Linked DNA regions of Homo sapiens: regions 1 and 2 are each linked to region 3. The links are contacts of gene promoters, found by promoter capture Hi-C in blood cells and fetal thymus (Javierre and others, 2016). All regions are on one chromosome and are shown on one strand. Each heading gives the region's core, a stretch centred on a gene start or on the middle of the fragment in contact. The rest is flanking DNA. Distances are from core to core; before and after follow the strand shown. Region 1 holds the start of GTF3C1 (general transcription factor IIIC subunit 1). Region 2 overlaps ERCC4 (ERCC excision repair 4, endonuclease catalytic subunit). Region 3 holds the start of VPS35L (VPS35 endosomal protein sorting factor like).

Region 1 (3,285 bases), core at 9-2,508, 8.0 Mb after region 3:
CAATTCTTAGTCACTTATTGCCCCCAGAACCTTAGGTTACATAATCCCTCTCTGTGACTCAGTGTCTTCCTCTGTAAAATGAGGACGATAACAGCACCTACCTCATAGGTGAGGATCAAGTGAATTTAATCTCCTGTTTAACGGAGTTTAATCAAGTGAGGATCAAGTGAGTTTAAGCTCCTAAAGCTTCTAGAATAGATTCTTAGAACAGCAATGTGGCCGGGCGCCGTGGCTCACGCCTGTAATCACAGCACTTTGGGAGGCCGAGAGGTGCGGATTGTCTGAGGTCAGGAGTTCGCGACCAGCCTGGCCAACATGATGACACCCCATACCTACTAAAAATGCAAAAATTAGCCGGGCGTGGTGGAACATGCCTGTAATCCCAGTTACTCAGGAGGCTGAGGCACGAGAATCGCTTGAACCTGGGAGGCGGACGGAGGTTGCAGTGAGCCAAGATCGCGCCACTGCACTCCAGCCTGGGCCACAGAGAGAGACTCTATCTCAAAAAAGAAAAAAAAGAACAGCACCTCACCCATGAAGTCCCTGATAAATGTCAGCTTTTAGCATTATCGCTAATTGTCCTGATACGCAGATCTCGAGTTGCCCTAGGCTATCTGCACCGAATGAATATACCATGAGGGTCTGTTGATCTCAGGAGTCTCCAGTCTGGCTCTAAAGTGTCTTTCCTGCTCTAATCCTATCCTCCAATGTAAAGGAAACATTCTTTTAAGCCTGAAGAATATCCCCAATCCTGTTCGCCATTACCCCAAAACACACACAGGGACAAAACGGGACATCACTAGATTCTCCCCCTCCCCCCGCCAACTCCATCGGACTCCAGGGCCCTGCCAGGCCTGAGGGACCCCAGATTAGCCTTACCGCCGTGCCCCAACTCAATCAACAGGCCTCCGGTACTTGCACAGCCCCACTCCATTCCCCCGCCCTGCCCCCAGCTCCATCAGCCCCCGGGCCCTGCGCCCGCCCGCCCGCCCGCCAGGCCAGGCCGCCCGCTGACCGGTCCTGGAGCTGTAGGTCGGGTCGCTCCCGAGGCTCCTCATAGAAGCTGATGCCCGGGTGCGTGGCGAGGGCCCGCCAGAGAAACTCCTGCGTGCAGGGTTCCAAAGGCAGCGGGAAGGGCGGCACTCGCGTCTCCAGCCGGCTCCACAGCGCTGGCAGACACAGGCCATCGAGCCCCTCCAGAGCGACTTCGTCCAACAACGACTCCAGCGCGTCCATTGCTACTTCAGTCGGCGGCGCCCGGGGCGCATGCGCAACGCACCGCCAAGGGCCTTGGTCCATCGCGCCTGCGCACAACGATCCGGGGCCCGGGGAGGTGGGTCAGACCCAGGGTTCGGAGGAGGAGTTCCAGCGCGCCGGCATGACGTCACTCCCCGGGGGCGGGCTCAGTAAGTGGAGCTCCACCGTCATTGGTCCGGGGCCCCGCAGTAACCAGGGGAACTGCAAACAGTGTAGAGGCCGCTTCCGGTTCGAGCTCCCGGAACCGCCGCCTCTAGGGATGGACGGTGAGTGTCTGTGGGCCCCTCCGGGAGGTCGGGCTGTTATTCTCCCATCCCTCCCGACCGCGCTTTGGGCAGAATCCTAGGCCATGAACCCCTGGACCACCACTTCCTGACCCAAGGGGGTCTCCGAAATGAGGGATAGGGAGGCTTAGTGGTCTGGAACGCGGAGGAGAGCCTGGGGGAGTGGTCAGTGCTGTGACCATTCTGCTCGGCTGTGGTCGTGAAGGAAACCGGTACTGGCCGGGAGCTCAGTGAAGGGATGTAGGGTGGGGAAGGAGAAGTAGAGGTCTGAGGAGGGTCTTGTGAATGTTGGGATGTGGAACTGTCGGATTTGGGAGTTGATATGAAAACAAGCTTGATCGTGGGAGTGCAATCGTCAGGTGCTGGGAAAGGGAATTGGTGTGGGGGGTGAAGGGAGTTTAGGAAATACTCCCTTTCTGTGCCTTGGCGTTAATAATAATAGCTCCCTTTAACAAAGTGCTTTCCAGTACCAAGAACTCTGTAAGTACTCTTGGGCAACACCTCGCTAAGCTTCATACCAGCCTTTTGAGTTCAGCGTTGTTCCATTTTACAGATGATGAAACTGAGGCTCAGAGGTGTTAAGGAACTTGCCCAAAGTCAAACAACCAGCATGTAGCAGAGTGAGTGAGAAACCCAGACACCCTGTCTCTGGAGCTGAATTATGGAGCTTGAGATTTGGACCGGTTTTGAGGGTCCCTTTATTCCAGAGGTTGTAAATGCAGATGTCTGCAGAGGAGAGTCTAGTGAGCCGGATTGAGGCTGTAACTGAAAATCAATTCCTCACCTGAAAGGAAAGCTGCTCACCAAGCACCAGCTGATTGTCCTCTTGGGGTACTTCTCAAAAACAGGGTTGGCCAGTCACTCTGAAGGCCAGAGACAGCTTGTGGGCCCCCATTTAGGGATCCCTGATTAGAGTCATGGTATTGACAATTGGAAGCAAATGGAAAATAGGCTATTCTGATATCTCACTTTGCAGATGGGAAGACTAAAGTCTAGAGAGACTGGTAGGGTCTGGGCTAGAGTCCAGATCATTTTTCTAATTACAGCACTGTCCCTCACTTCTCGGGAATTTGTTCCTGGGGAATCCACATTCTTTTTATATTCACTGAATGTAGTGTGGAGAAAATGTTTTTAATTGAACATTCTGTCATATGCTTAAAATATATCTTTTCCCTTTGTACTTTAGAGGTACTATAAAATGTGCTTTACCATTTTGCCTTCTGGAAAGGTCAATGTAATGTTGCTATAGAACATCAGTCCTCAAACCTTTTAAGCCTTGGGACCCCTGTATGCTCTTACCTCAAAGAGCTTTGTTTATTTATATTTATGATATTTACCATATCGAAGATTTAAACTGGGAAAATCTTAAGATGTCCATTAATTAGTTCCTTTAAAAATAATAAAAATTGGGCCGGGCATGGACTCGTGCCTGTAATCCTAGCACTCTGGAAGGCCAAGGCAGGTGGATCACTTGAGGTCAGGAGTTCGAGACCAGCCTGGCCAACATGGTGAAACCTTGTCTCTACTAAAACTTAGCCGGACGTGGTGACACATGTCTGTAATCCCAGCTACTTGGAAGGCTGAGGCAGGAGAATCATTTGAAGCCGAGATCTTGCCACTGCACTCCAGCCTGGGCAACAGGGCGAGACTCTGTCTCAAAAAAACCCAATAATAATAATAATAATTGGCCAGGTGCAGTGGCTCATAATAATCATAATAATAATTGGCCATGTGCAGTGCCTCA
Region 2 (3,147 bases), core at 620-3,119, 5.6 Mb before region 3:
TGTGATCGTTAGTGAACTTCTGGAGGCAGAGAGACTCTGAAATTCATAATCTTATTCCCACTGTATCTGTCATGTTGCCCTGAACCTAGATGACCCTCAAGAAAAATTTGATAAATAAATGTGTCAATGAATGCTTCAATGGTAAACCGACTGAAGAAGTTTGGTTACTCTTTTATAACTTTTATAATTGTTATAAACAGTATCATAGGCTCACCTGGTTTTGAATGCTAACACCCTGCTTACAAAGCAAACTCCTTAATTTTCATTAACCCCAGTTTTCTCATTAAGAAAACAGTGCTTCCTGAAGTTATTATAAGGATTAAGTTAATAAAATAATTTCTTAGTATAGTGCCTGGTACACAACAAACTCTTAGTAATTCATACCAAATAAAATTGGCCTTTTGTAACCAGAAATCTTGATACACCAGTCTTTTACTGTTTGCTGCTTTCTTATAAGCTTGGTTTTACTTTATTTTTTAAATTGATTTAAAAAAATTTTTTTGTTGTGTTTAAAACTACCACTAGGTGTCAGTAATATCCTGTGACTTTCAGTTACAGTGCAACCTAATTAGGCAGAGAGCAATGTGAATTTATGCAACGTTGAAGTCTGGCTTATCTGTAGCTCCTAATGAAAAATGCCAAATTCCCTCCTCCTTTCTGATCAAAGCCCACCGAATAATGAAGCTGGAGCTGTTACTGATGCTTGGCTGAGTGGAATGTAAATGAATGCCAAAAATGAATTCTTTTGAATTCTTTCATCCCCTGGGATCATCCCCCAGGACTGACCAAAGAGCAGTGCGTGAAGTGCAGGTAACCCTCTGGAAAGGCTGAATCCCCCAGCCCCAACTTCTTCACCTGTCACCACCCATTATTACCACCACACCCCACCCTGGGAATCCCTGCTAACCAGAACTCCTAACACGTGGGAGAACTATATAAATATCTGGTGAGGTTGTACCTTGAAAAGAACAGGACAGGAGGATGCTTTCATTGCCAAAACTGACCCTGACATCTCCAGACAGAACTAAGAACACACTTTCTGGGAAATATATATGTATTTTTCAGTTACACTTTTGATTTGTGTACCCAGTGCTGTGCCTCCACTTTATATTCATTCAACAAATATTTAACTCACTAAGGGTCCCTTGTTTGGCAGGAAGGGTGCTGAAGATAGACAGATGAATGGGACAGTATGGTGAACTCGTGAGTTAGACTGCTTCTGGGTTTGAGTTATCTTCATCTTGCACCAGCTGTGTATTTTTAGGCAAGTTTCTTAATTTCTCTATGCCTCAGCTTACTCACCCGTACATTGGTGATAAAGATAGTACCTTCCTCCTAGGATTGTCAGGGTGAAATGAAATGCTTATATGTAAAATACTTGGTAGCATGGCACATAGTCAGCATTCTATGATCTCTGTGATCTCTGCCTGTTGGTGTTACGATGTTCCTGTTCTCGGGCAGTTTAATGGAGGAGACAAGTAAAGAAGTAGTTATAGTACAGTATGGGTACAAAATGTCATAGGAACAAAAAAAACTAAAGTAGGCTTTTGTGGAGCTAAAACTCCTCCCAAAAACCTAACCTGCTTCTATTATTTTTATTTTTTGAAAAAGGAGTGTCTTGAGTTGGTGTGACTAAATAGGAATAACATGATTTTACACATGATTTGGAACCTTCGGCCTCCCACTTGCTTGCTGGATGACCTTGGTTAAGTTGCTTCCCTTCCTTGGTCTCATCATGATACCTACTGCATGGAATTATCATAACAATTAAATGAAATGAAAATCTATAGAAACACCTAACCCAGTTACCTGGGATGTAGTATCAGTTCTCTTCTTCCTCCTGGGTTCCAACCAAAATAAAGACAACTTTTTGGAGCGCAACATTTTCTTAAATTGAGTTTCTCCTTTTCTTTGGAAGTTCATTTTTATTATTCTTGACTCTACGTAATATTTCAATCCAGGCTAACAAAATGTGGCCTCTTAGAGTCCTTGGGAAAACCCACCAATTAGGTACAGAATATTTTCTGAGTAGTAAATTAGTTATGTACGTGTATTGGGGGGGTTATTGAAAATCCTTTGTCTATGAATTCCTAAATAACATTATTAATTTTTACTATATTTGGAAGATAATTTGCTGAGCTAGAGTAAATTTAGCTCCATCCACCTCTATCCAAAACTTAAACATTAAAATAGTAAAATCTGAGTTTAGTTTATTGAACTATTAGAAGGGTCATAAATCACTGTTAGTATTATTGTCCATACCCTTCCAGATATGAGAACTGGATCAAAAGCATGCAAGTACCATTATGCCAAATATATATAAGGTAACCAGCTTGATTTAGGTCTAAAAGACAGACTCGTCTTGGAGTAATTGTGGTTTTGATCTAGAAAGCATGTCTGTATGCCTTTATGTCATCTCATGTTTCTCCCTAACTTAGCACTAATCACACTGCATCAGATGACACAATATATATGAAAGATCTGGGTCAGTAGTCTCATTTCATAAATAACAAAGCATGTATAATTGTTCTTATTTTTGAGATGCTGAGGTGTTATAATCATGTACACCCCCAAAGACATGTATAAGTATGTCGATTGAAGGTTTTTGTTTTAAATGGACTAATTTACCTCTGAATTGACTATCTTCTGATTCTGAAAATTGAATTCATCTCATAGGTAATGTAGATGTTGCCCAGACTTCTAAAATGTGGCTATTTTGTATAGTCCACATCTGATTCATACATTAAAAAAAAAAAATTCATGACCTACTTTGCTTTCAGAAATTCTTCCTCTGACATGCCAGAAACACCCCACCCCAGGGCCTGTGCCCTCACTGTCCCCTCAGCCTGGCAGCCTGGAACTCTCTTGGCCCAGATGGTCACAAGGCTCCATCCAGCCTTTATTCAGATACCACCTTGGTGAGACCACCCCTCATACATACTCCCTCTCCTCCTTCTCTGATTCATTTTTTCTTCTCAGCACTTGTAGCATCCTAAATATTTTACGTATTTATATTGTTTATAGTCAATTCCTTGAGGACAGGGATTTATCTCTGTTCTGTGCGTGGCTATATGCCCAGTCTAGAATGGTGCTTATTCATTCTCTTGTAAGTACTTAAGAAAAATGTGATGAATGAATGGCAATTAC
Region 3 (3,296 bases), core at 133-2,632:
GTGTGAGCCTAGGAAAAGGCTCCTCACCTTGACCTCTTATTGAGATGTTGCATGTGATAACATGCATGGCTGTATGGGAAGAGCTCCTTGCTTTCCCGTGGCCACCCTTTAACCCTTGTTCACTTCCAGTGTTGGGAATAGCAGGTACGAGTGGATATACTTTCCTACTCATACTGAGCTGAACACTGGAGGGCCCGTTCTGGAGATGATCCTTTTCCCTGTCATAGGTCACCATCTCATGAACAACCACAGACCACCACCCCCGAATGAAAAGTAAGAGTTATAAAAACATCGAATGCTTTCTCTCTAAGGGACCATAATGGATATCTAAGTAAGTTATAAAAGTAATAATTAAAAAAAAAATTTTTTTTTGAGATGGAGTTTCGCTCTTGTAGCCCAGGCTGGAGTGCAATGGCGCAATCTCGGCTCACTGCAACCTCATCCTCCCGGGTTGGAGCAATTCTCCTGCCTCAGCCTCCCGAGTAGCTGGGATTACAGGCGCCCGCCACCATACCCAACTAGTTTTTGTATTTTTTAGTAGAGACGGGGTTTCACCATGTTGGCCAGGCTGGTCCCGAACTCCTGACATCAGGTGAACCACCCACCTCGGCCTCCCGAAGTTCTGGGATCATAGGCCTGAGCCACCGCTCCCGGCCTAAAATAATTTTTAAAAACGTTCTGTGGTCGAAATGGATATCCACCTTCCTAGAAACACTGCTTTGCCAAGTTGGACGAAATGCGAACCCTAATTTCCCCACGTGCATTAGCTGTAGTCAATCATATTAGATCTAGGGCAGCCCTCGGTTGCTAGTCGTGGGAAGGGCATTCTGCAAGTGTCTAAAACCGCCCGCAAAGCAGTGGGTAAAGCAGCGGCCTAGAGGGGGCATGGCTGTCCCACGCCAAACAGCGTATTAGCCGCAAAACCAGGTACTGGCTGAACCTCAGTTTGCGTCTTCGCTCCGCCGCCTTCTGGAGTCCTTTCTGCCCCTAGAGGACGCAGGTGAGCTAAGCAGCAGTCATGCCCTTTACCATCATGACGCCCGCAGGCGGGACCACCCGGCACTGTAGACAGCTGCCCTTTACAATCATGACTCATAGAAACTACGGCACTCTGGCCGTGGCCGACGTTGCTCCTCCGAAGCATGGCGCCGGCGGGAGTTGTAACCCGGGCTGTCCGGAGCGGGGAGCTGCCCCTCACAAGCATGGCGTCAGCTGAAAATGAAGCCTGTGCTGTGCGGAGCGTCGCCTGCCCCTCACAAGCATGGCGTCTGCAGAAGGTGCTGTGCGGCCGCTGCGGGGCGGCCAGCTGCCCTTCACAAACATGGCGGCCGAGGGGTGCGGGGAGTGGCGGGGTAAGGATGGGAAGCCGAGCAGACGGCCCCAGAACAAGCGGTCATGTGACTGGGAAGATGGCCGTCTTTCCTTGGTAAGGAAGCAGCGGCGGGTGGGCTTTGGAGAGGGGCTGTCCTTACTTGTGATGGGGTCGGCCTGGGTCTGAGAGTGTGAATTCCTCTCTGTCGGGTTCTGGTGGTCGACCGGCCACCCCCAAGTTGTCTTGACCGTAGAATCCCTGGCCGCTACCGCGGTCCAGCGGAGCAATCTGAAGCCAGACTGGCGGGTTCTTGGTTCTCTCCCCGTCTGCTGCCTCTCTGCGCCTTCCACGGGCCCCTGTCCATTCATTCCCTAAAGAAAACTTGAGTTTCCAGGCTTCCGCGTCCCCAGAAGTTGGCGCGGGTTCTGGGGTCGCTGGATGAGGGTAATGGTGGACTCAGCTTTTAAAGTCTGGACGAGTCGGGAGATCTGGCTGTTGGTCAGTTTCCTCAGCTCCTCTGTTCACCTGGAGACTTGCTTTTCTCATCTGTAAAATGGCCGCCATTCATCCTATCCTAGGCACAGCCCTCAGACTTATTCCTTGGCCTCAAGGAGCTGACAGTATAATGGGGCAGACGCACAGTAGAGGGATGTCTAAAGAAGGCATTCGGATGAGGCACCAAGAAGGGAGTGATTATCCCCACCAGGGGGCTAGGGGAAGGCTTCAGAGAGGAGGAGTTAAATTGGGTCTTGGAGGATGAATAGGAGTCCACCATAGGGAGGGCGTGGCGTGTGCCTGGTTGGCAGGCCCGTAGGTCCCTTGTGGTTGGAGTAGCTAGGAATGAGTGACTGAAGCTTCAGGGTTCAGCAGGTGGTATGTGTGTGAGTGAAGAACTTGAGGAAGTTGTGTTGTTGATGATAGTGGGATTTGGGGACGGGGAATCTCTCCTGCATCTCAGAAAGCGAGATAATTTACTTTCTCTTCAAATGATGTGAAGTAGCTTAGATTAAATGAGCAAATGAAAGACCTTAGAAATAATCAGGTACAACCTTCTGCTTTTGAGCTTGATAAACACTTCATTTTGTCTTATTCCTTTCATTTGCCCAACACTTAAGAGACTGCTTCCTTGACACGCTACATCAGCATTGAATGCCTCTGAGCACTTCCACACCCTGAGGTTTTTTTTTTTTTTTCAGTTAATAGTCATGCTGGCTGGGTATGGTGGCTCACGCCTGTAATCCCAGCACTTTGGGAGGCCGAGGCTGGCGGATCACCTGAGGTCAGGGGTTCGAGACCAGCCTGGCCAACATGGCGAAACCTAATCTCTACTAAAAATACAAAAATTAGCTGGGCTAAATTAGTGGTGGCACGCACCTGTAATCCCAGCTACTTGGGAGGGTGAGGCAGGAGAGTCGCTTGAACCTGGGAGGCGGAAGCTGGAGTGAACCGAGATCATGCCACTGCACTCCAGCCTGGGCAACAGTGAGACTCTGTCTCAAAAAAATAATAATAAAAAATGAAAAAGTCATGCTGGCTTGACCAAAAAGCTAACCAAAAACATGAGAAACATTTGACTTCAGTGGATTTATCTGAAGTTTGCAATCAGAAAATCCAGGAAGATGCTGTCTTAATCTCTGCATCCCAGTACATTTCTACCTTTGGAATTTTAATTTTATATTACAAGCAGGCAAACAGGTGCCATAACGCTTTTAGTATTTAGGGTCTCTATAGTTCCTAATATGGCCGTGCTCTAAATATTTTGTTGTTGTTGTTTTTGTTGAGACGGAGTCTCGCCCAGGCTTGATTGCAGTGGCGTGATCTTGGCTCACCGCAACCTCCGCCTCCCGGCTCAAGTGATTCTTTGCCTCACTCTCCCGAGTAGCTGGGATTACAGGCGATGCCACCACACCAGGCTAATTTTTGTATTTTTAGTAGAGACGGTGTTTCATCATGTTGGCCAGGCTGGTCTCGAACTCCTGACCTT

What was found. The method cuts DNA at HindIII sites, captures the fragments that hold promoters and counts their contacts. A CHiCAGO score of 5 or more calls a contact.
Region 1: the fragment with the promoter of GTF3C1 here is called in contact with the fragment with the promoter of VPS35L in region 3 in 1 of 17 cell types (fetal thymus); the score reaches 5.6 in fetal thymus.
Region 2: a fragment that was not itself captured here is called in contact with the fragment with the promoter of VPS35L in region 3 in 3 of 17 cell types (total CD8 T cells, fetal thymus and naive CD8 T cells); the score reaches 9.3 in total CD8 T cells.

What each region holds. Positions count from the first base shown.
Region 1 is chr16:27,548,655-27,551,939 of GRCh38, forward strand. GTF3C1 (general transcription factor IIIC subunit 1) reads right to left here and starts at 1,259. Exons shown (of 37, transcript NM_001520.4): 1 at 1,016-1,259. The coding sequence starts at 1,236. KATNIP (katanin interacting protein) reads left to right here and starts at 1,490. Exons shown (of 28, transcript NM_015202.5): 1 at 1,490-1,523. The coding sequence starts at 1,517. RefSeq lists enhancers at 1,156-1,235, 1,246-1,355. The HindIII fragment of the contact is 1,688 bases long and covers 185-1,872 here.
Region 2 is chr16:13,923,374-13,926,520 of GRCh38, forward strand. All of the region lies in intron 2 of ERCC4 (ERCC excision repair 4, endonuclease catalytic subunit), which reads left to right. The region is part of intron 1 of LOC105371093 (a long non-coding RNA gene); the gene reads right to left. Among named protein-coding and RNA genes, the nearest start is that of ERCC4, 4.8 kb to the left of the region's middle. The HindIII fragment of the contact is 2,829 bases long and covers 456-3,147 here.
Region 3 is chr16:19,554,321-19,557,616 of GRCh38, forward strand. It overlaps VPS35L (VPS35 endosomal protein sorting factor like), which reads left to right and starts at 1,383. Exons shown (of 31, transcript NM_020314.7): 1 at 1,383-1,426. The coding sequence starts at 1,410. RefSeq lists enhancers at 978-1,457, 1,017-1,979, 1,838-2,067. The HindIII fragment of the contact is 7,423 bases long and covers 1-2,164 here.